7 separate regions of the Homo sapiens genome follow, and all the other regions are linked to region 5. The links are contacts of gene promoters, found by promoter capture Hi-C in blood cells and fetal thymus (Javierre and others, 2016). All regions are on one chromosome and are shown on one strand. The core of a region is centred on a gene start or on the middle of the fragment in contact, and the rest is flanking DNA. Distances in the headings are between cores, read along the strand shown. Region 1 has its middle 8.9 kb from the start of RPS29. Region 2 overlaps NIN (ninein). Region 3 overlaps NIN (ninein). Region 4 overlaps SAV1 (salvador family WW domain containing protein 1). Region 5 holds the start of VCPKMT (valosin containing protein lysine methyltransferase). Region 6 overlaps NIN (ninein). Region 7 overlaps NIN (ninein).

The links. Contacts are between HindIII fragments. The CHiCAGO score rates a contact against its expected background, and 5 or more counts as called.
Region 1: a fragment that was not itself captured here is called in contact with the fragment with the promoter of VCPKMT in region 5 in 3 of 17 cell types (fetal thymus, non-activated CD4 T cells and total CD4 T cells); the score reaches 7.2 in fetal thymus.
Region 2: a contact is called between a fragment that was not itself captured here and the fragment with the promoter of VCPKMT in region 5, in 3 of 17 cell types (erythroblasts, fetal thymus and non-activated CD4 T cells). The highest score is 7.4, in erythroblasts.
Region 3: a contact is called between a fragment that was not itself captured here and the fragment with the promoter of VCPKMT in region 5, in 1 of 17 cell types (total B cells). The highest score is 9.1, in total B cells.
Region 4: a contact is called between a fragment that was not itself captured here and the fragment with the promoter of VCPKMT in region 5, in 1 of 17 cell types (total B cells). The highest score is 5.8, in total B cells.
Region 6: a contact is called between a fragment that was not itself captured here and the fragment with the promoter of VCPKMT in region 5, in 4 of 17 cell types (non-activated CD4 T cells, naive CD8 T cells, total CD4 T cells and 1 more). The highest score is 7.1, in non-activated CD4 T cells.
Region 7: a fragment that was not itself captured here is called in contact with the fragment with the promoter of VCPKMT in region 5 in 1 of 17 cell types (activated CD4 T cells); the score reaches 5.3 in activated CD4 T cells.

Annotation. Positions count from the first base shown.
Region 1 is chr14:49,575,427-49,579,444 of GRCh38, forward strand. It overlaps a transcript of RPS29 not described here and the pseudogene RPL32P29. Among named protein-coding and RNA genes, the nearest start is that of RPS29, 8.9 kb to the right of the region's middle. The HindIII fragment of the contact is 2,623 bases long and covers 502-3,124 here.
Region 2 is chr14:50,774,035-50,778,051 of GRCh38, forward strand. It overlaps NIN (ninein), which reads right to left. Exons shown (of 31, transcript NM_020921.4): 7 at 2,915-3,105. Among named protein-coding and RNA genes, the nearest start is that of NIN, 55 kb to the right of the region's middle. The HindIII fragment of the contact is 1,458 bases long and covers 1,945-3,402 here.
Region 3 is chr14:50,755,147-50,759,154 of GRCh38, forward strand. It overlaps NIN (ninein), which reads right to left. Exons shown (of 31, transcript NM_020921.4): 18 at 1,346-3,484. Among named protein-coding and RNA genes, the nearest start is that of NIN, 74 kb to the right of the region's middle. The HindIII fragment of the contact is 479 bases long and covers 1,880-2,358 here.
Region 4 is chr14:50,645,646-50,649,599 of GRCh38, forward strand. The region is part of intron 2 of SAV1 (salvador family WW domain containing protein 1); the gene reads right to left. Among named protein-coding and RNA genes, the nearest start is that of SAV1, 21 kb to the right of the region's middle. The HindIII fragment of the contact is 3,377 bases long and covers 174-3,550 here.
Region 5 is chr14:50,114,844-50,118,959 of GRCh38, forward strand. It overlaps VCPKMT (valosin containing protein lysine methyltransferase), which reads right to left and starts at 1,729. Exons shown (of 6, transcript NM_024558.3): 1 at 1,444-1,729; 2 at 1,226-1,336; 3 at 996-1,068. The coding sequence starts at 1,709. It overlaps SOS2 (SOS Ras/Rho guanine nucleotide exchange factor 2), which reads right to left. Exons shown (of 23, transcript NM_006939.4): 23 at 2,287-4,010. The coding sequence ends at 3,501. RefSeq lists an enhancer at 1,666-1,725. The HindIII fragment of the contact is 15,614 bases long and covers 1-2,468 here.
Region 6 is chr14:50,826,579-50,830,963 of GRCh38, forward strand. NIN (ninein) reads right to left here. Exons shown (of 31, transcript NM_020921.4): 2 at 3,886-3,939. Among named protein-coding and RNA genes, the nearest start is that of NIN, 2.4 kb to the right of the region's middle. RefSeq lists an enhancer at 3,266-3,315 and silencers at 3,886-4,005, 4,026-4,075, 4,146-4,385. The HindIII fragment of the contact is 164 bases long and covers 1,882-2,045 here.
Region 7 is chr14:50,790,785-50,794,983 of GRCh38, forward strand. It overlaps NIN (ninein), which reads right to left. Exons shown (of 31, transcript NM_020921.4): 5 at 1,928-2,097. Among named protein-coding and RNA genes, the nearest start is that of NIN, 38 kb to the right of the region's middle. RefSeq lists a silencer at 490-549 and an enhancer at 1,292-1,341. The HindIII fragment of the contact is 2,027 bases long and covers 957-2,983 here.

The sequences.
Region 1 (4,018 bases), core at 563-3,062, 540 kb before region 5:
GGCCTTCAATATTTCTGTCCCACAAACAAATAATGGGAATCCACCATTTATTTATAACAGTCAGAAGGTCCAGTCTGGAATCTGCTCAAAGAATTTTCACCAAAGGAAGCCAGTTCTGGCTTCTCTAAATTATTTTCTGGCTGAACACAGTGGCTCACCCCTGTGATCCCAACACTTTGGGAGACTAGGAAGGGAGGATTGCATGAGCCCAGGAGTTCCAGACCAGCCTGAGCAACATGGTGAGACTTCCATCTCTACGAAAAATTTTATAAAAATTAGCTGGGCATTGTGGTGCACACTTATGGTCCTAGCTACTTGGAGTCTGAGGTAGGAGGATTACTTGAGCCCAGGAGGTTGAGGTTGCAATAAGCCATGTTTGTGCCACTGAATGCCAGTCTGGGTGATAGAGCAAGGCCATGTCCAAAAAAATTAAAATAAATTCTAATTTAGCAAATTACTTTATGTTCAAGACATTAAATGATAATTACCTCATCTAGATTAAGCTTGTGACTTTCTGCCTCTATTCTTTTAAAATTCTAAAAGATAGAAGATACCTGGAACTAGCACACATAATCTAGGCTAATTTTTGGACCCTGTATAGCCTTGATTCCTACACACACATATACTCAGTCTATCTACAAACTGAGCCTTTTATGTTCTACATTAACCTTCCTGAGAAACAGCTAATAGTGCAGCCTTTTTTTTTTTTTTAAGTGATACAAACATGACTCATTGAAACCTGGACCTCTTGGGCTCAAGTTATCCTCTCATCTCAGCCTCCTGAGAAACTGGGACTACAGACATGCACCACCACGCCTGGCTAATTGTTTTTGGGTTTTTTTGTTTGTTTAATTTTGGTAGATAGGGGATCTCCTGATGTTGCCCAGGCTGGTCTGGAACTCCTGGCATCAAACCATCCTCCTGCCTCAGCCTCCCAAAAGGCTAGGATTACAGGCATGAGCCACTTTGCCTGGCCTCTTTTTTTCAATTTTTGTCAATATTGAGGAAATTAAAACACTTTATTATACCCTTCTTAATCATACCACTAGAAGTGTTTTTTCTCTGCCTACCTAAAAACCCAAATCCCTAATACACCAATTACCATTAAAGATAGTTTTTAAGAACGATGTCCTAGCAGAGGTTATGCAAGCAGGCTGCTTTAAAACTGTTGAAGGCCAGGCACAGTGGCTCATGCCTTGATTATGGTTTGTGGGCTGTGTCCCCACCCAAATCTCATCTTGAATTGTACTCGCATAATCCCCACATGTTGTGAGAGGGACCCGGTGGGAGATAACTGAATCATGGGAGCGGTTTCCCCCATACTTTCTCATGGTAGTGAGTAAGTATCACGAGAACTGATGGTTTTATAAGGGATATCTGCTTTCATGTCTTCCTCATTTCCTGCTTGCCGCTGCCATCTAAGAAGTGCCTTTTGCCTTCTACCATAATTGTGAGGCATCCCCAGCCACATGGAACTGTGAGTCCAATAAACCTATTTTTCTTCCCAGTCTTAGGTATGTCTTTATCAGCAGTGTGAAAATGAACTAATACAAGCCTGTGATCCCAGCACTTTGGGAAGCTGAGGTGGGAGGATCCCTTGAGGTCAGGAGTTCGAAACCAGCCTGGCCAAGAGGATGAAACCCCATCTCTACAAAAATACAAAAATTAGTCAGGTGTGGTAGTGGGCACCTGTAATCCCAGCCACTTGGGAGGCTGAGACAGAAGAATCACTTGAACCTGGGAGGTGGAAGTTGCAGAGAGCTGAGCTTGCATCACTGCACTCCAGTCAGAGGAAGACTTCATCTCAAAAACAATACATAAATAAAATTTTAAAAAATAAAACTGTTGGGGGCATTAGCCACACGAACAACTGTCCAAAAGCCAGGGTCTCTGGTTTTTGTTGTTTTTGTTTTTACAGTTTTATTGGTTTTATTTAAACCCCAATAAAACAAACACATTCACTGTCTATTCACTTTCTGCACTGTGCAGGCTGGCATTGGCATTGGTGACTCTGATGACCACCTGGGCTGCTCTTTCCAAGATGGCTTTGCAGTTCTTGGAAGAAACATCATGAGTGATCTCAACACAGTAAGATTTGTTGCTCACCAGCAGTACTTCCAGCTCCTTAACGTTGTGGACCAGGAACTTCCAGAAGCCACTGGGCAGTATGTGCTTTGTCTTTTTGTTTCTCCCATAACCAATGTTGGGCATAGATCTGGCCCTCAAACCTTCTATGAACCCTGTTGTTAATACCTCTGTGTTTCCACCAGTTACCCTTAATTTTGACATATCAGTCTGACTGGTTCCCAGTGAACTTGGTGCTCTTTTTGATGATCTTGGGCTTCGCGAGCGGTCTCAGGATGGCCATGATGGAGGAGATGGGTGTCACCTCCATAGGCAGTGCCAAGGAAGACAGCTCAGGTCTTTCTGTAATGGTAAAAGAGGACCCATAAAAAGTGAAAAAGCAATGATGCCCAACCAAATTCAATAAATTTGTACTGCATGCCTGCCCTGTGAAACATGTTATGTCACTATCAGGATCTAGATTGAGTGGAATTAATTCAGAGAACACCAAAGATCACTCTAAATCATGTTTTAGAGAAACAGTTGAAATAATCAGAGATGGTTATACTGGAAATAAGAAGATTCTAGGAAAACATGAGAGCCTTCATGCCTAAATATTTAGCCCTTTTTTTTTTCAGAGATTAGACTTGTTTTGTACAGGACAACACAGAATTAATATCAATGAGTAGCAGTCAAAATCAGTAGAATGAAATCATAGCAACCTAAGAAAAAACTTACCATCAAAGCAATCTAAAAATAGAATGAGCTGTTTTAGGAGGAGCAGAAGCCTCACTAGCAATATTGGTACCAGGGACATTATACACTGCAGTATCTGGATACTCAATCTCTAAATGAGTCTTAATCAGATACTGCTACAAATCAAATCATAAATCACATCACCCAAAGTCAAATGCTGCTAACATAATGACATGTTTCCTTCTGATTTTTTTCCCTGTGTACTTGTTTTTTAACATAATAAAATTGTAGCACATATACAATTTTTCACTTTTTATAAAAAAAATTTCTTTCGGCAATTTTGTAGACTACCAATATTTACCAAAGCTTTCACTTTTTTTTTTTTTTTTTTTGAGACAGGGTCTCACTCTGTCTCCCAGGCTGGAATGCAGTGGCATGATCTCGATTCACTGCAACCTCGCTTTCCCCGGTTCAAGCGATTCTTGTGCCTCAGCCCCCCAAGTAGCTGGGATTACAGGCGCACACCACCATGCTCAACTAATTTTTGTATTTTTAACAGAGACAGGGTTTCACCATGTTGACCAGGCTGGTCTCAAACTCCTGGCCTTGTGATCCACCTGCCTCAGCCTCCTAAAGTGCTGGGATTACAGGCATGAGCCACCCCGCCCAGCCAGCTTTCACTTTTTGTTGAACATTTACAGTTTAGTGGTAAGAGCAGTTTTCAAGACATACTACCTGGTTGAATCTCTCTTACTAGCTATACAATCTTGGGAAAGTTACTTATTCATTGTGCCTCAGTCACCTCATTTGTAAAATGGGGACGGTACCTCAGGGAATTGTTGTATTAAAGGAGATTCTACAGCCAAAATGTTTATGTCCCCCATAAAATCCACATGATGAAACCCTAGCCTGTGGGTTGTAGGAGGTGGGGCATTTTGGAAAGAGATTAGGTCATGAGAGGTCAACCCTCATGGGAGTAGTTCCCTTATAAAATAAGCCCAAGAAAGCTCATTTGCCCTATCCACCATGTAAGGACACAATGAGAAGGCACCATTTATGAGTCAGGAAACAGCTCTCACCAGACATGAAATCTACCAGCACCTTGATCTCAGACTTCCTAGCCTCCAGAACTGTGAGAAATAAATGTCTGTTATTTAAGCCACTCAGTCTACTGGATTTTGTTACAGTGGCCCAAAGACACTAAGACAGAATCCAAACCTAAGAATATATCCTCTGCCAGAGTGGTGGCTCACACATG
Region 2 (4,017 bases), core at 1,424-3,923, 660 kb after region 5:
ATCTCTTGGAGAGCTTGTTAAAATGAAGACTCTAATATGGTAAGTCTGGTGGTGTGGGGATTCAGATTTCGGCATTTCTAACAAGCTCCCAGTTAAGGCCCATGCCACTGAGCAGTAAGGAGACAGAATAAGCAACAAATTGCTCTTGTTGCATTTGAGCCTACAACTGGACTCATTCTAACACAGGCCTAAATTCTCTGCAACACATTCTCAAGCTTCTAATATTCCTTTTGTAAATCTGGACTACTGCTAGGATTTATACGATCTCACTATTGTTGATTTCATTCTTCATGTAAGGGCTTGAGGCAATTCTCTCATCTCAAATGCTTTTTTTTCCCCAATTCATACCCAACAGGAAACATTAGTTTCCATTCTTGCTTTCATACGACTTCCTCTGGAGGGAACTCTGAAACAAGAAAACCATTCTAAAGAGTGGAAACGTTTGCAAGAAGCAACAATTCCTAAAAGAGGATCAAATCAATGGAAAGATATTTGGGGCAAGATTCTGAGGTTGCCAAGATCCCTTAACTTTTCTATCCTGTTCTTATCAACCAAAATAATATTTTCCTGGAGGACAAGGCTTTCAGGACCTTTGTACCAGAAATTACTGTCAAGTCCAGGTGTGTTGACTGAAGTTAACAAGGTTAAAAGTTTGGCTCTAACATTAGATCCACACTGCTTGACCTTGTGACATTAGCCAAATCAGTGCACAGCTTCCAGACTGCCTAAAGACCTCGCACCTGGAAAGTCCTTCCAGTTATTTTAGATGGTGGAGTGGGCAAGTGATGAATAGAAGAGTGTGGATTCAGAAGACGGGGCCGGGGCTAGGCAGAAAACAATGCCGGTTAAATGGCCAACTGGGGCACGCTCTACACTTTGAGCAGGAGCTGTCTCTGGAACTGTGAGGACATTCTTATTCTTACATGGACCAGGTCTTTGGATAGCTGGTTTGCTGAAGTGTAAGTTGGAAAATAATCACAAACCCAAACACTCAAAGAGGCCCGGAAGATGATGTCAACGAATGAGGCAAGATGGGTTTAAGACATCAGAAAGTAGCGAGTGCTGGGAAACTGAACACAGGAGTGCATGTCCTCTCCAAAGGGGCTGGCTGCATCTTACTGCCCATAAAATGGAGCCAAATCTTTGGAGTTTTAGAAAAATCTCCTGATTTTTTTTTTCAATGTAGCAAAAAGTTCAATTTTAAAAACACTGGGCATGACAAGTAAAATAGGCTTGGGGCCAGATTCGGCATCGGGCATGCTGGTTTGCATCTCTGCCCTGTCATTGTTCTTGCTTTCGGAAAGGAGTGTGCTAGTTACAGGCATAAGACAGTGACTCTAGTTCCCCTTCATGAAAGCAGGGAACAGCCACGATTTCACTCTCTCTACCTATAAAATGAGAGGTGACTAAATCTAAAATGGCGTTCAGTTGTAAAATTTTAGGATTCCAAGTAAATGAGATCATCTTGAACTTCCAGCTCCTCTGTGGTTTAGAGCTAGTAATACTAAGTACTATAGAATTTCACTATTTTTCTTTAGCAGGAAAAACACTAAGTAAAAGTTATATTCTATGAGCAATCCTCTACTTGTCCTCAGGCCAGAGGAAAATAACTAAATGTGCTACTTCTTTTCCTGAGCTTTGGAAACCACCACAGAAGAACATGCAGCTCTCCACAAGTAGCTACAGTTTATTCCAAGAATTGGTTTTAGATAAATAATCCAAGTTTGTGCAATATTTTTTGGCAAAAACAACCCAAGGTTCTACATATTGCACTGATTTACAATTCAGGAGAATAAATTTAATTTTATGACTTAATAGTCACCAATGAAAAATAAATTACCACTGAGCCATTACAAAGGTAAACAAAGGGTATATAATGGTCAAAAATACAGGAAAGAAGGGGAAAACAACAAAAAAAATTTTCTGTAAGCTAGGCTACTTGAAAGCTTTTGAAAATAAATCAAAAGCTATTATTTGTTTAGAAAAATACCACTAAACAAATATTTCTATTATCTGTTTAGAAAAATAATACCACTTATCCCCCGAGCAAGCAGAAAGCATGGTTTCAAATATCATTATAATCAAAGATTCCCAAAGCGACAACTGTAGCCCTACCCTAACTCTCTCCAATCCTTATTTTCAGCTCGTTGAAAGGCACATCTTAGAATTATTTCTATTCTTATGTTTCACAGCTATTCATGCACCCAGTCCTACCAGTTCCTCCCTTAATTTTTTAGAAAACATAAAGCTCAGAGTTTTACCAAAGAAGAGTCTTTTGGGGGCTCCTTCAAAACTCTTCTTAGTATTTTCAAAACAACCAAACTACCCTTTACCATTTTCTCATGACCAGAATATTGTAATGGCTGCTGGCTGCTCTCACCCAAGGCTCTCTTCATGCTAATATGTAAAAGCAGTTTAGCTCCTCGTCAGCAAGCAAGATTTTTCTATATATTGCTCAATCTGCTTAAGAACTCAGAGATGATATTGAGATGTTCTTTCCAAAAACTTAAATTTATCCTTCTGGTCTTCAAAATACTCCCCCAACTCAAATCTACTGAAATCCTTGCTTAATTCTGCCTCCACATGTTTCCCACAATTTACTCTGTGAATGGCACCTCTACAAATACATCTGACATCATGGCTACAGAGAGCTAGTGCCTGACAGTTTCACATGGGGTAACCTGCCTAGCACAGTGAGCTTACAATAGCTGGGTAAGTGTCAGCTCTTGTCAGTTTTTCTTTTTCACAACACAACAAGAGCTCCTCAGTGACAGAATCTTCATGAATGACTTCTTAGGAAAAAAGAAAATGGAGCCTAACAAGCTGCAGAGAGCCACACTACAGCTGTTCCTAGCATGTGGTCAACTACACTTTTACCATCATTATCATTCCTGAATTATACTGCGAGGCTTACCTCTCCATCCACATTCTGTAAACCATACTGCTCACAGATGGAGACCAGCTTCTTCCGGTTCAGGTGACCATCACGGGTGATCCCCAAATCTTCACAAACTTCTTGCAGTTTCTCTTCTATCCAGTCTTGGGGAGGGGAAGATCCACTCTGTGAAGCATTCAAGTCATCTGGGTTCCAAAACCTTAACTGGCCTGAGAGAGAAGCATATGTTGCACGGTTTCCAAAGGAATTGCAAAGAGAGAGTGCCTATTCTTAAAGAAAACTGTGCTTTTTGAAAATAAATACTGTAAGAAAAAGGCAATAAATGTCAATTCCATTTTGATTTGGTCCTGAAGCTCCCATGAAACAGAATCAATGGTTCTAAGGCTGCAACTAGAGTAAATGGGTACTTTTTGGCTCCCTGACAGTCATACCGGTGTAATAAATATAATCTCCTGTGCAATACTGCAAAGTTCTAGGCTTGTTTTATTTCAGCTGAGCACATCACAAGCTTAGGCTATAGTGATCATAGAGAAAGAAGGCTGGTTGAGGGCCATTATCGAGAACTCTGTAAGCTCTATCTCAACTATAGCTACCAGAATGTATTACCTCCACTTTCTTTCCAGCCTAAGTACTACAGCATCTTTTACTGAAAAGAAAATAATTTCATGATAAAAGTCTCAACATTAGCCTGTTCCCAAATCCTTACATATGAATATTCTGACATACAGAAACCAACAGTCCAACTGAAATTAAAAAAAAAAAATCAATGGTTGCAAGCTATAAGTTCCCAGTTATCTATACATTAAATTTCATTTGAAGACTTAAGGATCAAACTACTTATTTAAAAATCAAAACTTCTTATTTATTCTCTATTAAAAGCCCTCACTTCTAAATTTTGCTTTACACATTAGAGATTCTGTAAAGTCATTACTTAAACATGAGATAATTACTGGCACAATTTTGTGTGCTTGGAAGAACCTCAGAGGGTTGAAAGCAGTATTTAGTGCTACTCCCACTCTTTAGTGACAGGAATTAAGCCCATTACTGCTGTGGCGTTTCAACCTAGAGAACAGGTTGTAATTACACTTAAGTACAGTTAATCCACAGAGGGCTGTGAAGTG
Region 3 (4,008 bases), core at 869-3,368, 640 kb after region 5:
TTTCTCAATGGCAAGCATACTGCTTTGAGCAAATGTCTTCATTTATCTCAGTCTCAAGTCCTACCTGTTCTGAATACACATAAGCCATGTTACAAAGCTATATTAGCTTAGTTTTAGGCCCCTGGGTACCTAGGGAAAGAAAATTCTCTATTGAAATCAAAGGGCCACAATGAAATATGTACACTGTTTACTTTGTGATTTTATTCATCTCATTATATTCTGATTTTTAGGACTAAAAATGGTCTGAAGAAGAGGAAAAACTACATTCAGAATTAAATTATTTCAGAGACATTTCAGACGTCCTGTAATAGTTTACAAGTTTTTTTTTTTTTTGAAAAACCAAATTTGCTAGAAGACTATGCAATTATATTTTACAATGTCAAGTGGGCAGTGGTTCAAATTAATTCTACTTGTATCTCTGCTTTTCAAGCATATTTATTAGAATCTGGAGGCTCCTCAAATTATATGTTCTAAGATAAATTTCCACTGTTTGTTTTGTCTCTTTTTTTTTTTTTTTTTTTTTTTTTTTTTTAAAAGAGACAGGGTCTCACTCTGTCACCCAGTCTGGAGTACAATGGCATGATCATGGCTCACTGCAGCTTTGACCTCTCAAGCTCAAGCAACCCTCCCACCTCGGCCTCCCAAGTAGCTGGGACCACAGGTGTGCACCACCACGCCCAGCAAACATTTTTTTATTTTTCTGTAGAGGCAGTCTTGCTATGTTCCCTAGGCTTGCCTGGAAACTCCTGGCCTCAAGAAATCCTCTTGCCTTGGCCTCCCAAACAGTTGAGATTGCAGGCATTTAAGCCATGGTGCCTGACCATTTGCACTGTTTATGGGTTATCAGCATGTGCTTCAAGTGATATGAGTACAAAACTATAAAGACAGAACATTTTTTCTATATTAGCATAAGAAGTGAGTTCTTATCTACTAAGTTAATAATACACAAAAAATCATTCATTTGTATATAACATGTTTCCTCAAAATGAGGAAAGTAACACTTAGCAAAATAAAAAAAAAAAATCCCCTATCCATCTAAATGAAATAAGTGCTAGAAAAAAGTTAAAGAGGTACATTGAGGATGCACATGGTTAAACAGCAAACACTCGCCATTGTGAACTTTCACACCCCATATGAACACTTGTTTGCTACAGCGGAAGGGAATGCCTCCTAAACAAGGTTATTTTATTTGTTAATACGGCACAGAAGCAGAAGGAAGTCTAGAGAGTACTGCTCTCTTCGTGAAGACTACTAGGTTAGTTTCTCTAGGCACGGCAAGCAGTGGAAGTTAGATCTGGTGAGGTGCTCTGTGGGATTCGTGACGTCTAGAAGGTACATACATTACCTCAGAAGTTCAACTTTTTGCTGCATCTCACTGCACGTGATCTGCAAGTCATGCATCATTGCCTTCAGCTCTTCCTCCTTTTCTCCGTGAGAAAGTACATCTTTTTGCTTAACTAAAATAGTGACTCTCTCCTTCAACTTCCTAGTCAGCTCCTGTAACTTTGTTTTCTCCAGTTCTAACTCTGCTATGGTGGCCTGATGCTGAAAATGTTTGTCTTGAAAGCCTAGGAGAGTAGTGTTTTCCTCCAGTATAACTTGATTCTGTACTCTTGGCCTTTCTTGATGTGTCTGAATTGTTCCATGTAACCAGGCAATTTCATGTGCTTTTACTTTTTCCAAGAGCTGTGTGTTCCCCTCAAGGTACTGGTTTTCTTGCTTACATTCCTCTATGACATGATGTACACTCCTAACCCTGGGCACACACTCTTCCAGTGTCTGATTGAGCTGGAGTATATTTCCATCAGGTTCGATTTCCAGGTTCTCTAAACTGGCTTCCCATAAGCAGCAGTCACACCGCTGGACCACGCTTTCCTGAAGCTTCTCAATCTTGCCTTGAAGTCTCAAAACCAGAACATTCAGCCCCTCATTTTCTATTTTGACCTCATCGTAACTCTTTTCCAGGCTGAGGAATGTTTCAGTGACTTCCTCCATTTTCTTCAGCTCATCCTGCAACCTGAAAACCTCTGCAGTGAGTTCTTTGTTATTTTCTAGTGCCTCATCGTAGCGTGTCTCCATCATTCTCAGCTCTTCCTGAAGGCAGTCATTTTCTCGGCTCACATCTTCATACAACAGCTTATATTTGGGAGAAGCCTCAGGGATTCTCTCAAGCATCTTCAGTTTCTTTTTTAGCACAGAAACATCAAAAAGTAGGTCCTGTTTCTTTTCAGAAGCTCGATCACAGTCCGCACATAACATCATTAGCTGTTCCTGAAGCTGACTAATCTGATTCTTCAGCTCCCAGGATTCAGTCCTGGTCTCTTCACTGTTTTCAAGCTCAGAAAAACCCTCTACTGAAGCTTCAGACTCCTCTATTTTGACTTCCTGTCTCTGAACAGAGCTCGTCCCTGTACTTCCCAGGTCCCGGACCTCATCATCTTCCAGGTCACTTAGGACATGCCGCCTGGTCACACCTTCTACTTGCTTCGTTCGGTTTTGCTGTAAAAACTGCTCTGTTTGTTCCGCAGTATTTCCAAAAAACTCAGTAGCTGGCTCATCCAAACAAGAAGACATTACTAACCCTGGCTCTAACTTTTGTAGCCTCTGTTGCAATCTAGAAATTTCAGTAGCCATTTTCACATTTTCCTTCACTGCCTGTTCATGAGCTCTCTGCAGGCTTAAGAGGACGTCCCCATTTTCTTCCAACAGCTGCTCCCCTTGCTGAAGCAGGGACAGGGCTCCATCTCCTTCCACCTCCTCCTCTCCTATCACCTGGCAACCACTCTGAAGCATTGAGAGAGGAGATGTTGCCTGCTGCATTTCCTTTATTTTACTCTGAAGTCTGGAGATTTCTGTGCTCATCTCGGCTCTTTCTCGATCTGCTGTCTCACAGGTCGCTTTGTGAATGTTCTCCATGGCTAGAAGCTTGGACATCATTTCCTGCCTTTCCTGGTCATGTTCCATTTCTAGTCTTTCCAGCCGCTGGCTGGCCAGCTGCTCCGAAGCCCCTGCCTGGCACAGGACCTCCTCACGCTCCCTCAGTTCCCTTTTGTGACTGCTCTTCAGCTCAAGTATCTGGTCAGACAGCAGGCTTTGCTGGGTTTCAGATACATTTCTTAGGTCTTCCAGGTCTTGGAGTAGCTGCTGTCTCTCGACGACCATGCTGTTCAAATGTTCTTTGTATGTTTTCTCCAGCATCTCTCTCTCCTGGGTCAGGACCAGAGAAGTTGTTTTCTCTCTCTTAAGAGTCTCTTTCAGCAGCTCCTGGGCTTCCGCACACTCCTGGGTGAGCTCGTCCTTCTCAAATTCCCACTGGGATTTCTCCTCACGCTGCTGTTCCTGGAGGTCCTTCAGCTCTTGGCGGTAGCGCCCCTCCAGGCTTTGCAGAGCGCTTTCACACCTCTCAGTGACTTTCTGACAATCAGACTGAAACTGGGCTTCTATTTGAGAGGTTCTTCTATTACACTCTGTTTCCATTTTTTCCCTAAATATAGTCAACATACAGCATTATTGAAACTGCCGCCAACTCCAGAAGCAAACAAAAACCATTTTCCCATGCACTGAGAAAGCTGCTGAGCAAACAACTGAAATACTCCCTAAAAATGCTCTTAACTTACTCCTATGTGATTCATTTATACTGGAAAGGGATCTCATTTCTGAAAGCTAAGACTGGCAGCCATAATTCATTTAAAAGACTTACCTCTCTCTGGAGTTAGGGGGAAATCTTAGAAACTAATTTCTCTGGCACACTCCCGGATGTATTTGTTTATGGATTTTTAAACCAAAGACAAATGACCAAATGTATATTAATCTAATTCCTCACTTGGGAAATATATACCATTCCTTCATTTTAATTAAGCATGCGTTATAGGATATCAGTCACATAAATGACACATATGAACAAATTCATTCTGCTTTTGCTTCTTACTTAACGAAGTAGCACCAAGTCAATCAGCGTGTGACGAAACAAAGCCCTCAAATAAACCTGGGATTTCACATGAGGAATGT
Region 4 (3,954 bases), core at 612-3,111, 530 kb after region 5:
GTAAAGCTACTTAAGTATGTATACTGCCAAAAGAAAAGTGGGAAAAAGAAAATTTCCCCTGATTAAAGATTTGACATTTCAGCTTTAAAAAAAATGTAAAAATGAACTTGTAAAACCATTCCCGGTTATAAATTCTTAAAAGTAATCTGGCTGTGCCCTAGAATTATTAAGTAAGCTTAAGGTAGCAGGGTTAAGGTCACCATACAAAAATTAATATTTATATATTAACAAACAACAACTGGAAACAAAAGTTATTGAGATAATATAATTTATAATAGCTCCAAAGAATTGTGCAGGACCAATATGCTAAAAACTACAAAACACTGATGAAAGAAATAAAAAACCTATCACATTAACGGATTGGAAGATTCGACATAAAGTTAAGATGTCAATTCTCCTGAAATTATCTTTATCTTTATAGGAGTCCCCCCCTTATCCATGGGGGATCCATTCCAAGACCTCCCGTAGATGCCTGAAACTGCAGATAGTACCTAACCCTGTGTATGCTGTGTATTTTCCTATACATACGTATCTATGATGAAGTTTAACTTATAAATTAGGCACAGTAAGGGATTAACAAAAATAAAATTGAACAATTATTATAATAAAAACTGGGTGAATGTAATCTCTCTCCCTCTCTCTTGAAAGATCTTGTACCATATTCATCAATTTTCAGACTGCAGTTGCAGAGGTAACTGAAACTGTGGAAAGCAAAACCATGGATAAAGCGAGACTACTGTCATTCCAATAAAAATTCCGGCCGAGCGCAGTGGCTCACGCCTGTAATCCGAGCACTTTGGGAGGCCAAGGTGAGCGGATCACCTGAGGTCCGGAGTTTGAGACCAGCCTGACCAACATGGTGAAACCCCGTCTCTATTAAAAACACAAAAATTAGCCGGGCGTGGTGGCGGACGCCTGTAATCCCAGCTACTCGGGAGGCTGAGGCAGGAGAATTGCTTGAACCCGAGAGCAGAGGTTGCAGTGAGCTGAGAACGCGCCATTACACTCCATCCTGGGCGACGAGAGTGAAACTCTGTCTCAAAAAAAAAAAAAAAAAAAAATTCCATGGAGTTTTTGTAGATACAGATAGTTATTAAACAGATTTTAAAATGTATACTGAAAGGCAAAAGAGAACTAGAGTAGCCAAAACAATTTTTTTGAAAAAGGGATAAAGTTGAAGGACTCACACTACCTGATTTTTAAGGCTTACTATAAAGCTACATTAATCAAGACAGTATGGTATTGTCAGAAGAACAGACAAATAGATAAATGGAACCAAACAGAGAATCCAGAAGAACACCCACACAGACATGGTCAACTGATTTTTTTATAAAGGTGAAAGGGCAATAGCGGGGAAAGGTTTTTCCAACAAATGATGTTGCAACAACTGGACATCCATATGCAAAAAACCTAATCACAACCTATACCTGCCACCTTACATACAAATTAACTAAAAATAGATCATATATCTAAATTTAAAACTATAACGCTTTTACAAGAAAAAAATAGAATAAATTTTCATGAGTTTAGTTTAGACAAAGAGTACTTTTTTTTACCATGATGCTGAAAGTTCAACTCATAAAGAAAAAATACTGATTAAATTGAACTCTGTCAAGATTAAAAACGCTTGTGAAGGACACTAAGAGAAAGAAAATCAAGCTGTAAACAGGGAGAAAATGTTTGCAAATCACATTATTAGCCAAAGAACTCTGACCTAGAATATACAAAGAATTCTCAAAACTCAACATTAAGAAAACAACCCTGAGCCTGCTGCAGTGACACGCACCTGTAGTTCAACCTACTCAGGAAGCTGAGTAGGAGGGTTACTTGAGCCCAAGATTTCAGGTCTGTAGCACACTATCATCATGCCTGTGAACAGCTACGGCACTCCGGTCTGTGCAACAGAGTGAAACCCCTTCTCTCAAAACAAAAACAGAAGAAGAAAACAAAACGACCCAGTTAAAAAAAAGGGGGGTAAGAATTTTTAACAGGCACTTCACCGAAGACAACATATTGATGGTAAATAGCACGTGAAAAAATGCTCAGGATCATAATTAGCCGTGAGAGAAATGCAAATTAAAACCATAATGAAATGACAATACACGTCTATGAAAATGGCCAAAAAACCAAACAAAACCTGACAATGCAAGTGCTTACATGGATACAGAACAATTGGAATGCCCATACACTGCTGGTGTGGATGCAAAATGCTACAGTCACTCTGGAGAACAGCTTAGCAATTTCTTATAAAGTTAAACATATGCTTTTCATATGCTACAGCAATCCCATTCCCAAATATTTACCCTAGAGAAATGAGAAGTCATCTTCACACAAAATCCCATTTGTGGATATTTACAATGACTGTATTCATATTTGCCCCAAAGTGGAAATGACACACATGTCCTTTAACAGAATGGATAAACAAACTGTGGTGCAACTGTACAGTGAAATCTACTCAGGAATAAAATGGAACTAATTATTGGTACATGCAAGAATCTCAAAGATGAATCTCAGAAGTATCATGCTGAGGGAAAGCAGCCAGTCTCAAGTGGCTACAAATTGTACAGTTCCATTTTTATGAGATTCTTCCAAACACAAAACTACTAGGACAGAAAACAGTGATTGCTAGGAACTGGAGGTGAGGGACAGGAGTTGACTATAAGAGGACAACCTAAGGGAATTTTAGAGGGTGTTTGAAATGTTCTGTATTCTCATTACACAGGCATTACATGAAATCTATACATATGTTAATACTCAGAACTGTGTAACTTGAAAAAAGTTAAATTTACTATACTTTTTAAAAGAATAATCTGGCTGCATAATTTTATTCTCACACAAGAATACTAATAGTTGGCCGGGTGCGGTGGCTCATGCCTGTAATCCCAGCACTTTGGGAGGCCGAGGCGGGCAGATCATGAGGTCAGGAGATCGAGACCATCCTGGCTAACACGGTGAAACCCCATCTCTACTAAAAATACAAAAATTAGCTGGGCGTGGTGGCGGGCGCCTGTAGTCCCAGCTACTTGGGAGGCTGAGACAGGAGAATGGCGTGAACCCGGGAGGCGGAGGTTGCAGTGAGCCGAGATTGCGCCACTGCACTCCAGCCTGGGCGACGGAGCAAGACTCCGTCTCAAAAAAAAAAAGAATACTAATAGCATATGTATAACAAATCACCCCGAAACTCAGTGGCTTAAAACAAGAAGTATTTATTTGGTTCACCACAGGTTGGTGATACTGGCTGAGCTCAGTAAGTTTTTTCCTTGATATTTGGTACAAGTTATCTTTACTGTCTCATTACTTGATGAAAGTTATCTCTTGTATAACTTTCAATATGAAGCCCTACTGATGATCAGACCTCCATTTCTTCTCTGACTTAAGCTGCTATTTTTTTTACCCTTAGCTCACTCTGTTCCAGCTACACTCACCTCCTGGATGCTGTTCTCAAACACGGCAGGTACTGGCTGTTTATTCTCCCTAGAAGATTCTTCCTTCAGATATTCTCTTGGCTCACTCTCACCCTCTTCAAGCCTCTTCTCAAATGTTTCAATGAAGCTTATTCTTACTATGGCAGTCTACATCTGCTGAGCTTCTACTTACCGTTTTACTTTTTTAAAAAGCACTTTAACCTTTTAACTTATGTAATTTTAGTTTGTTTATTTACCTACAAGAATCCCACAAAGAAGATTCTTAGGACAGGAATCTTTGTTTTGTTCACAGATACATCTCCAGTCTCTAGAACAGTGTCTACAGAATAAAGCACATAGTAAGTGTTAAATAAATAAGCTGCAGTAATAAAGACAGTGTAGTATTAGTGGAGGAGATACACACATCAATGAGACAGAAACTGCATAAATATTTTCCTTGATTTTTGGACTTATTTTGCCTCTTTCACTCCCATATTTTACTAGTTCTGAAACGAAGGTGTTTTTTATAATCAAGAGAGTAAATCTGTTA
Region 5 (4,116 bases), core at 479-2,978:
CTATCTTAAAACAAAAACAAACAAACAAAAACCCCTCTGTAACTAATGATTGGGTAAGCTCCTGTTAACTAAACCATGTACTGATTTTGGTTTCCAGAAAAAGGATTCAGATGACTGCATTTTGGAGTTCTCATGGGAAACAAATGGAATCAACCTTACTCTTAAAAGTTTAATTTTATTTAATCTAATTTGGGATTTAAATAATCAACGATTTCCCTACAAAAGTTAAATCTGACCCTAACTTGGTTCAATGCTAATTATTTTTAAAATAATCGATGCCCACAACACTATACAAACTGATGTTTTTTTTTTTTTTTTTTTTTTTTGAGACAGAGTTTTGCTCTTGTTGCCCAGGCTGGAATGCAATGGCATGATTTCGGCTCACTGCAACCTCCGCCTCCCAGGTTCAAGCGATTCTCCTGCCTCAGACTCCCAAATAGCTAGGATTACAGACATGCACCACCACGCCTGGCTAATTTTGTATTTTTAGTAGAGACAGGGTTTTGCCATGTAGGTCAGGCTGGTCTCGAACTCCCGACCTCAGGTGAGCCACCTGCCTTGACCTCCCAAGTGTTGGGATTACAGGCGTGAGCCACCGCGCCCGGCCCAAACTGGTATTTAAAGAAAAGAACAATGAATTATTTATAACTTAATTCTCAATGTCATGGTTAACATGTTCCGTGGGAACAACCAAGGGAAAAAGAGAGGATTTTGGCTTTTCATAACATCCAATTGGCAAAATCCTTTAAAATTTTTACAGAAGCCTCTAGTAAAATGCATATAACACTTTTCTCAACATGCTTCACCAGGTCGGTATGATAATGATGAGCGTATATACATATGGTCCCTGGTGACTTTTATCTTCTCTTTACTGCATCAACTATAAGGCAAATCCCGGATTCAAAGATGTTAAAATGTGAAGAAACGTGTGCTTTAGAATTCATGGAATAAGGTTCATCTTCTAAGTGAAGAGACTTCGCTCACTGGATACTTACCTCTTCATAGTATATGCAGTCGGCCATCAGTATGAAGTCGGGTGGAGAAGGAAAGCCTTCTATTTCTTCCCCCCTTAAAAATGCCAAACAAATATTTCAATTGTTTTAATAATTCAAAATACTCTTGTTTTATAAAGAACCGGAAAGTCCCCTTCCATCCTTTTAATGAAACGCAATTCAAAACAAACTACAAATCAATATCTTAAAACAAGCTGAAAGGCCATACAAACCATTTCAGTACCTTGGCTTGAACAGAACCAGTGACAAGATGCTTGTTCATATTAATATTCATCTTCAGCAAGTCTTGCAATTCCTCAAGATCGGTGACTACAACATCAGCCCTATAAAATAACGTCGACTGAGGTGTAGGCACAGGGGGGAAAGCCTGTAATCCGGATTTCCCCAGCAAGAAGGCGCCCCCACATCCCGCCCGCCCGCCAGCTCTTACCCGAGGGTAGCAGCCATGAGCCCCACGGCCCCGGTGCCCGAACCCAGCTCCAGCACCGACCGCCGGCTCAGCGCGTGGGCCCCGTCGCCAGAAAACTCGGGCGTTTCCAGGTATTTAGAAAGGACAATGGCAGCGTCCCACACAACGCAACCCACGCCACCGGAGCTATACTGCTGTAGTCGTAGCACTGTACCATCCCGCTTCTCCAAAACTCGCACAAAGCTCCGCAGTGGGTCCTCCAGCGAGGACTCCAGCGTATCCGCCATTGCGCCCGGCAACAGAAAGCGGCGCGCGCAGGGACGTCACATCAACGCGCACCGCCCCGCCCTGCGGCTCCGCCCCCTGCCCGCCGCTGAGTTGGCGACGCAGCGCGCGCGAGTTAACAAAGCCCGGAAGGCAGCGTTACCTGGGCGGGGCCGAGCGTGGGGCCCCTGCTTACCCGACGCGCTTGGCAGCCTCCCTCTACCCTAAATCACACGTTTGGCTTAACGAAGAGGCCGTTTAAATCACTTTCCCAGACAAAACTATTATAATCTGCTCTTTAAAAAACAAAGCCAACCTCAGAGTTTACCAAGTTGGACACTTGATTTACATAGTAGTTACAAGGCTTAAATGCAATCAGCTTCCAAGATCCTACCAAAGATGGCTATAATCTTACAATCTTCCTTTTCAAGTTCCTAGTATGCTCCTAGTTTTTTGTATGAATTCATAAAAGTGGTTGCTAGAAGCCTGCAGCTCACATTTAACAGTGAAGAAAAAATTGTGTGTGTGTGTGTGTGTGTCTATAGGACTCAACAATCTCCCCCTTTGTTCCTTATAATGAAAACACATATTTTAAAAGTCTTTTAAAAATTAAGACTGGGGTGATTTATTAATCTTGTTAAGAACTCTGATACAAAGCACAGTAAAAGGCCACAAACCAGTAAATAAACAACGTGGCTTTTGGCTACTTTACAACTGCTGCTACAGCACTATCAGCAAAACACTCTATCACTTTGAACGAAGGCATCCAAATGGCAAATAAAAGCTTTACTCACTTATCTGATTAAAATGTTTAATAAAGCTTTAAGTATTTGCTGGTTTAAATATTACCAATCTAAAAAATATATTTAAAAAAAATTTCAGTTAACACGAGATTTATAGAGAAAGTTACTAGGTCTTGAAGGCAAGGCAGTTGGTTCCTATGCCATAGAATTTTTTTTGAATTTATGAATTAGTAAAGTAGCAGATTGTATTATAGGCCTCAAGTCACTTAAATTTATATAGGTTATTAGCAGTATCTTTAAATATACAATATAAACAAAACTGTACATACATGGCATATTAACTGTTTTCCATAACAATAGGCAATTCATTAGCTAAAGACGTCATAGTCTGCAAAAACAAAAGGCACATCTGAATGAGATACATGCCCTTTTTCCCTCCATCATTGGGTTATGTAGTCTTTGTTTACATTTTGACAAAATAATAAACACTTACAGTGCCATTCTATTATTTTCATCCTACTTTTCATTTTTGTCTTCAGCAGCAAATACCGGCATTTAAGACATGGCATTAAAGAGTTTAAGAACAGTTGGTGTTATTCACAATTCTCCTAGATGTAAAAACTAGAAGTAAAAACTAGAAGATGGTCAAAGAGGTTTAAAAATCAGTAACACCATATACCCCTCCCATATTTGTGTAAATTCACTGCCTTAAAAAGGCATCTATTACTCAAATTTGAAAAATTTCACAAAAGCACTATCCCTTTTCAGTGCAATCATGTCACTTTAAACCATATTTTTGCAGAGTTTACAGTGCAAATATAAATTCTTTATACTGGCCTTTTGGCAGCACTGAGGATCCAAGACAAGGCAATGCTACTGATCACCTGAGGATAATGGTGAAGGACTTTTGTATTTTTATTTTTCCAATTCTTAAAAGCTTATTTGATCAGTAGCATTTTTGTAAGAGCATTATTTGTAAAAAGTACTAAAATACTATGTCTTTTTTTGAATAAATTAAAAAAAAAACTTTACAAATACCATTCCAGTGTCAATGACTACATATGGCTAAGGTCATTGGGGAGTTTCTGCATTTTCTAGCAAAGGCAGTCTGTACAATGGGGGGTGCGAAAGCTCCCGTTTGTAAGTCTTTGGTGGCAGTTTTGGCAGATGAGGGCTTGAATTCTGCCTTGGTGGAACAGGGGGAGCTGGAGGATGAGCAAGATTATTCTGACTAGAACTGAGCACATAGCATCGACGCGGTACCCTTGGAGAGGGTGTGCTAGGAGGAGTGCTTGGCGAATTTGGACACGTACTAATGTCTCTGAGCCAGTCTGAATCTCTGTGAAGATGCCCCAGTGGAGGTGGCTGAAGATTAAATGGACAGTTTATAAAGTGTTCTGGAGGCCGAAGGGGAACTGGTGGAGGGGTATCAGGAAGAGGATCTCTTGGTGGTGGCGGAGGTGGACTATGCAGAGGCCCATCAAATGCACCAGTAGGAACAGGAACTCTGGGTTTTACCTTTGGAGGAGGAGGCTGTCTCGGTGGAATAGCAGGAGGATCATCATCAGATTTCATATTTCCCTCAAAAAAAAAAGTAATTAAATTATACCTCTATTCTGAAAAATTAAAAAAAAAAATTTTTAAGTCTGAAAAATTCTTACTTGTCAAGTTAAATTCAGAGGCTCAA
Region 6 (4,385 bases), core at 714-3,213, 710 kb after region 5:
GAATCATGAGTGGACATGTGGATTTATGAACTTTTCAGTGTTCAACCAAGGTACAGAAAGGAGCTTGTAACAATGACACCCCAGCTAAAGGGGACGTCTGTTCTGGGCCAGAGGGAGTGAAAAAGGGACAAAGTCTGGCGAGTGAAAAGGGGACAAAGTCTGGCAAGTGAAAACCAAGTAATAAATATGCACAATGCTAGAGCCCCTAGCCCAGGCCTTTTATTTCGCATCCAGATGGTTCAGCAGCTGAAGAGCTCTGCGGAATGTCTGCATGCCCCTCTCGGCTCAGCTGCTTTCCTTGAGAGGGCATCATAATAGATGCTTTTGGACCTGTGTGCAGACATAGCTGTTGGGGGTCCACAGACTAGGCAGTGACCACCAGTGACTCATTTACTTACTCTACAGCTGACGTGATGAACACCGACAAACCCCACTTGGGCAAAGCTCTCCATTTATGCCTTTAGCTTTCACCATTTGGCAAGTCGGAGCCTAATAACGCCAATGATCAAATTAAAGTGCTCTTTTTCTTCTTTCTTTTCTGCAAATACTTTAATTGGCTGCACAGATTTTCAGGCTCACCATATTGGACTACTTTCAGTATAAAAGGAAAGAGTGACAAGGATAAATTCAAGTTTAGTAAAAGCTCAATAGAAAAAGCAGTTGCAGCCATTTACGAGTTTATATAGGAGAATACTTCCGCCAAAAACCAGTGCTGCTTAGCAGCAAACTGATTACTGTCAGAATGCCTCCTCTCTGCTCAGTGTCTCACTTCTAGCTGGATACCAAAAGCACAACAATATCACTGTGAATGAAATCATGATACAAAAATATAACACGAAAGCTTAAATGCACAGGAAGAAAGTCACATTAAATACATTTGAAAAAATGGCTGGGAGCGGGGGCTCATGCCTGTAATCATAGCACTTTGGGAGGCTGAGGCAGGTGGATCACAAGGTCAGGAGATCGGGGCCATCCTGGCTAACACGTTGAAACCCTGTCTCTACTAAAAATACAAAAAAAAAAAAAAAAATAGCTAGGTGTGGTGGCGCACACCTGTAATCCCAGCTACTCGGGAGGCTGAGGCAGAAGTGTTGCTTGAACCTGGGAGGCAGAGGTTGCAGTGTGCCGAGATCATGCCATTGCACTCCAGCCCAGGAGAGAGCGAGAGACTCCGTATCAAAAAAAAAAAAAAAAAGAAAGAAAAAGAAAAATAACAACCTTTGTCAACTACACTATAATATTTAACTAAGGGAATCCTATCAGCGTTTATTCGAAAATGTAAGCAACCTTTATTATTTTACTATCCTGAAGGATGTAATAAACCCATGCTTTTGTTCAACCTAATAACTGGTAGATTACCCAATCAAGTAGTTAACTCAGGTTAGCTACAGGAAAAAAAAAACAAAAAACAAAAAACACAACAACAAAAAAACGCCATTAGCCTGGCACAATGTGCATTCAGTAACCTGTAATCAACTACTAAGTAAATTACAGAAGCAGAAAACAGAGCTGCATGTTTGTTACAAAAAAAAAAAAAAAGGAGAAAGCTTATAACAACTTCCACTTCTTAAGCCATATTGACTCACATTAATTTAGGATGCCTGAGGCTATGAGTATGGTACCCTGAGGTGTAAGTGAAGGTGATCTTCTCTTCTCACGTCTATGAACAATATTTTCCCAACTTTGTTTTTAAAGTGAGAATTAGGGTATAGATAGATGCTTTGTAATTTTTCCATCCAAAAGCTTGAATAAATGGTTAATTGCTGACTTAAATTGCAATAAAGAAGTGTCCTAATTTCAAACAAGGATGCTCACTTTCAGAATCTCATAATCTTTTCAAAATTCTATTTTATTCATAAATAGGATAAAAATCTTTTTGCAAGCTTCACTAAGTCTCTCCATAAGCCCCTGCCCAACAGATGCAAGTTCAATAGCTAGAATTCAAACCAGATAATTTATTGGCTTACAAATGAATTGGCATCTATAAAAATAAGCCTTCTAAAAAGGCTTCACGCTGTTTAAATCCTTCTAAAATGCTCTGGCTAAGCTTGCCCACCCTTTATCAATGTAAGACTGATAAAATGCATTTTCATTATCAACATAAAATGGAAGCATCAAGATAGTTGAAATGTTAGTTTAGAAAGTCATTTGCAGTGACATTTAAAACAATTTATTTGAACATTTGACTCATGATAAGAATACTGCCTATTACATTAAGATTGGCTGTTCAGAATTCACTGGAGCCCTATTCTCCCCCTCTGTGACAGTTAACATCTTTTGATATTAAGGGTCATTACACATCTAAAATGAAAAAGAAATAAGAAAAAAGAACCCCACGCCATTCTGAGCAAGTGCCTATTAAAATGACTGATCCTTGACATTTTAATGCAGACTGTATGATGGCTTCCTCTCTATTGCCCCCTGTGAAGCCTTTCCCTGTATTGGTAATAACTTTGCCGATGTCCAACCCTGTGGAACATTCATCCTACCTTTTCCCCACTCTGCAGAATGCTTCCCTCTAAAGAATCACCAGAGAACAGGGAAAATAAACAAATCTGCAAACAAATTCCCGGGCAGTTCACATCACCTCCCAAAGGACACTGACAATAGCTGAAGAGACCACAACACACAAACTCGTTTTTCAGCCAGCCTGTAATGTTCCTCCTATACACACTCTGGAAATCCTCAGCTCCCTTCAACTCCGGAGCAAGAGCCACCAATATTCCAGGTCAGCCACCTATATAATATGCTCACCACGAGAGAAGACTCAAGGTAAAATTAAACTGACAGAAAAAAGGAATTTTCCTTGTTAGATCATCAAGCCTCCGGAATCATGCAAACATGTGTGTATGTTATGGTGTTTACGGGGACCTAACTGAGAAACGTCGTGGTTCCAGGGGCTTCCCTCATGTGTCAGGATGGACTTTATCAGGATTCTCATCCTACAAAGCTACCATGTCAGTCACAAAAGACAACTACGCAATCTGTTTCGATGTAATAAATTCAGGAGTTGAGCTGTATGGCAAGCCCATCTTAGAAGTCCTCAACACCAGGAGAGGATCTGTCCTAGTTAGGAGCAGAAAGCAGATCTCATAATATCCAAGTTGTCTGGAAACATGATATATGGTAGGGCAGTCTTTCCAGCTCCCATTTTGTTGGTGCCTTCACCTCGGGTTGTCAGGGCTGGGGTTAGGGAAATTGCCTCTTTCCGTCTCTATCTCTTTTAACTTCGCAGCGAGAGCTGGAAGCAGTGACTGTTCCCATCACCTAGTGTCCTTCTGTCAGGGGCCGCTTCGGTAGCTACAGAAGCCTAGCCGCTGGAAGCTTCCTTCCCCGACACTCCATACCTCCATGCCACACCTTTTAGGCAATAACCAAATGTCATTTTGTTCTTTCCCCTTCTCCTGGGCATTATACTGGGAAACTGTTTACGCGCATCGACCCCGCACACCTCCAAAAATCTCCACTTTCCGGGCTCCAAGCAGCTCTCCGCTACTCAGACAGCCCAGGCTAACACCTCGGATTTCCCCATGCAGTTTCCTCTGCAGCGTCTCAATCACAAGGCTGTACGGGCGGCACATGCCAACGGAACCACCACCCCTTCTGCTCCCTCGGGGACTCAAGCCTGCTCTCGGTCAAAGCACAGAAGCGGCTTTCAGCTCCGGGCAGGCGGCCGGGGCGTCGGGGGTACTGGAAGTGCCCAAACCCAGCGGTGCTGCCGCGCGGGGAAGCGGAGGTGCGGCCGCAGGACAAGCGCGCCTCCCAAGTCCCTGGCCACCTGCGATGCGTCCTCAACTCGCCTGCCCATCGCCACTACCAGAAACCTCAGACAGCCCATTGTGTGGGCAGGCAGCGCGCTCCCCCGGCCCCGCCGCCCTCGCCTACCTTCTGTCGGTCTCTCCGGAGCGCCCGCACAGCCGGCAGCCCGCCTCCAGCGCTCTGCAAAGCGAAGGAGGACGCTTTGTTAGGGCTGGAGAAACGGGACAATACTTCGCAGCCGGCGCAGCGGTTCCGGGCGGGCGTCCTTCAAAAGGACGCGAATGGGGACCCGCGTGAGCGTCATTTCCATATGTAAGGGGCCAGCTCTTACAAAAGCGCGGCTCTCGGGGGCCGCGGGCTGCAGCGCGCATCCTCCCCGCCCCCGCCGGCCCGCCCCCGCCCGCGCAGCCCGCGCCTCCGGGACCGGCCCCTCCTCCCGCCTCCGAAGCAGCCCCGTCCCCGCCTCGTCCTCCCGCCCGGCCGCTGCTTCCTCCCGGCCCGCAGGGATTGCGCCCCGCTGGCCCCGGACCCCAAATGGGAAGCCCCCGAGTGATCCGGTGCCCAGTTCGCTCCGGGCTCTCAGGGCCTCGCCGACGGCGCGGGGGCAGCGCGAGGCCTCCGTGCAC
Region 7 (4,199 bases), core at 720-3,219, 680 kb after region 5:
AGATTTTGCCCAGGCTCAGGCCTCAACTCTTATCTTTATTTATACATGAAATCAAAGTCTCACTTTAAAAATAGTAAATCTCCCTGGGCACCAGTAGATAACATATAACAAGGATATAAGAAACATGTTGCCAGCAACAAAGTCAGCTCTGCCCAACAGCTTTCTGCGTATTCCTAGATGAGGACTAGAAACTCATGTCAAAAAAAAAGTAAGCATTTACTTTCTTAGTACCAAATAATACCCTGGGGACTGAAATAGTTGGGGAAATGAGTTATTAAACTTAAAAGTGTTTTCCAAATAACAAAAACTTACCTGCTCAAGTACTGAGACATTTAACCATTTTTTTCATAAAGAAGTACATTCCACACCACTCAGGGTTATAGAACAGACTTTATGATACCCTTCCTGACAATAAGAAAACTATTACGAACACTGTACTAACTGAAGTATGTAAATTACTTGCATCCCTGAGATTGTATATGTAAAATTTTTGTGCATATGAGTATATGTGTTTTACTGGGGAAAGACCCCTATCTCAATTCGCAAAGAGACCCAAGAAAGGAGAAGGACTCCTGAAACTGTTCTCAGCTTTTTCTGCTTTTGGCTTTTTCTATTTTCAGCTGTCACTTCTCATCCACACTACTCTTATACCACTTTTGTGGGTTTTTTTTTTCTCTCTTCTCTCTTTTAGTTGCTTTTCTCCCTCTCTTCTCAATAACATTTCTGCCACTGCTGCTTCACTTGTGGTGAAGGACAAGTGTCATTTGTTTTTTTAAAAAAAAATGATGCAGACCCCGATCAGCAGACTGGTCATGTGTCCTTATAAATTTCCGTATTTATTGCCAACACTTGGGCTCAACACTTGGGCTCTTTTTTGTTATTTTTGGATTTTGGGGTATTCTGGAAAGTTGAGGAGGACACTGGATGTCTGATTGCTGGGGCCATTATTGGGAGCAAGCTTCCTGTAGATTTCAGTAAGCTGAACATGGATGTTAGACCACAATGAACACACAGGTGCACGCGCACACACACACACACACACACACACACACACAGAGTCCACTGGCAATCTACAGACCACTTTCAGAAAGTTGAGGCGCTTTGTTTCTTTTCCAATTTATATTAGTATCTGAAATATCTGTAGCCCCAGTCTGAGCTGGGATTTGCAAGAAATATTTACAGCTTGCTCAGCATGGCATTTTCAATCATGTTCTATAAATGGGATGCTGGTAAATGAGCCATAAAGAAAGAATAAAGAAAATGTTACTGAACCTCCTTTATTGGTAGATTATGGCAATATGCAAAATGAAAAGATGGGGGATGAGGGAGGCTGGCGACTCTCCACATGCTGGAGAACGAGACAGGCCTGGGTGCAAGGAATCCAGCAGAAAGAACCATGGCAACTGCTGGGCACTGGAAAGCACCCCAGGCTCAGTATCTTGAGGCAAAAACCAAGTGTTCGAGCTGCTTTATCACACTACAAAAGATAAGATGCAGGCTTTCAAAATGCCTGAACGCGTTGCTTTCATTTCCTGCTACAGATGCTGTTTTATAGTTTGGGGCAAGGGAGGGGGAGGAGCTGGTTCGCCTTTTAAATAACTAAAAATGATCATGCTATAGAGGAGAGAGATATTCAAGAACTAGAAGTGGGAGACCTCAGATGATGTGGAAATACCTGAACTCTAAATGTGTACATGACGCATGCACAGAAATGTCAGCTCTCCAAAAGCTGAAACGAGGTAAAAACATTCAAAAGATAGAAACATTATATATGTCCAAAAGGCAAGTAATAAGATTAGCAAGGAGTTGGTAACTGAGAAAAGCCCACATCGTGCCATCAACCCCCTCAGCTCCCCTGTCTCTGTGCTGCACTGACGTGGGGCTCCACACTCATGATCCAGATGAACGTGCATGCCCGATTCCTTACCTCACTGCAGTCACCGGCTGGGATGTGTGAAGGCCGCGCTTCTTCATCCAGTGGCTCAATCACCGTCACTTCAGGAAACTCCTCCACGGACTCTTGGAACTCGGGCAAGGACCTTCGTCCGTAACGCTTCCCACCTCTAACATATTTGGGCTGAGCTTCTAGTGAGCAGTCTGAGAGAGGAGACAAGAGTTGAGGCCACATGACATGAGAATCTCAGTTCTTAGCTGCCACTCACAGCCATCGGACACAGCCTCTTATACCAACCTCAAAATAAACCACCACTGTTTGCCAATTGTGGTGGCTGTGGGTGTATATGAGCCATCAGGTCAGATGCAGAGCACGCCTTCTAATTCTGAACGATTTATGGGACCGTGAGTATATATCTGCACATGACGGGAGCAATCCAACAATGGCAGCAAGGGATCTGACTTAATTGCAGAGGATTAAGGTCAGGAAAAGGTGAGGGGTCACATTTGTTCTGTTTATTAAGCTGGGTTTTCCAGCAGGATGGGGAGACATCATATTAACAAAGAGACACCTTGGAGGAAGTCTTAGAAAATGGTAATACAACAGACACCAAATCAGCACTGTATACTCAGTATCCACATCAATTAGTCTGAAACACCCTCCCCTACCTCAGTGATTCCTCTGTTAACCATTCCACTCTCTGATCTATCAGACAAGCAGATGACAAAACAAAGAAACGGACACAACACATTCTAAGCAATTAATGACAGCTAGTTACGTATATGAAACCCGGCATCAAGATCTCATTGTAAAATTAAAAACAGTAAAATAAAATAGCAAATGTGAAACCACAGTAAAAAAAATTGTATTATTTTATCTCTTTGTAAGCATCGGTGTTGTACAAAATAAAAAGGAATGTGCATGAGGTGAGAGTCATCTCTTGATCTTAAAGAAGGACTTCAGCATTTTGACATCACTTGTCTCAGGTTCAACACTGACCACCTTCCCCGTTACCATCACCACCACTGCTGCCATCACCACTGCCATCACCACCACCACCACCACCTCCACCGCCACAACTACAGGCTAAGCTTTTTCTACAATTGGAGCTTTAAAGCAATAAAATAAATACTTCACTCTATTCAAATGTTATCTCAGCTATAGATTTTTTAGCACCTTGTACAGCATCAGAATAAAATGTTTCATTAAAGTACAAAAGATGACAATGCTTTGATTTCTGTTGTCTTGCTGTCCACATATTCATACTCTCTCGAGAACAGATATGTATTCTGTTTGAACATGAGTCTTAGCAAGGTATGTCTGAACTCAGACATGTAGACTTTTAAATGAGATTATGTACACGTATTATAAAAACGACAATAGTTGATTAGATAAGAACTAAAAGAACGACCGTTCCTTTATCACCATTGAAACCATGCTGGGGTTTAGCCATTACTTTACAGTTTCCCAGGGAGGACTGGCGACCCTCTTTGACTAAACACCTCCCCGCCATGTCCTTCCCTCTGGGACAAGCTCGGATTTCACTATCTTCACAAATGTGGCCAGACACATTCTGAACATGCTCAGCAAAGCTCAGAGTGAAGTATTTATGGTAGCTATATAATTTCTAGTGATATTTATATCCAGCTTTAAAAAAGTCCCAGTGAAGTCATTTTATTAGGTCGAGTGATTCTCTTACAGGAAGTGTTTAAGCATACAAAATTTATACTGAAAATTGCATGCATATTTGAAGGTACCTTTTATCAGAAGACAGTGTGTCAGCTTGTGACCATTCAGGAGCGGCCCAGACACCCGAGCTACTTGTTGGCAGCTGACACCCACAGATGCTAGTCAGATAAGAGGCAATGCAGAACCATCCTTAATTTATTACATATTCTTAAATTTTGGTGGCAGACAACAAGATACACCATTAGTGACTATAGGGGTTTGGAAAAGATTAAAAGGAACACTTAGAACCTTGGATAATGAACCACAGTATTTTCCCAGTATAAGAACAAAGTTGTGTCCTGGGGATGGAAGTGGCGAAGGAGCTCTTATTGCATGCTGCACTTATTCAGAGGTTAAAAAAAAAAAAAAAAAAAGCAGTGGGAGAAAACAACTATCTTTTAAAAATCCATTGTGATCTAATCCCAAACCTACCGGTGGATGAAATGGTTCCCTGGTTGTTTACTACTCACTACCCCACGTAGTGCATAGGGTAGATGCAGTGGTGGATTCAAAACAGCTCTTTTTCTAAGCAATAAAAGGTAACAGATTGTGAGCCAGCAGGGACCCTGTGGAGTTT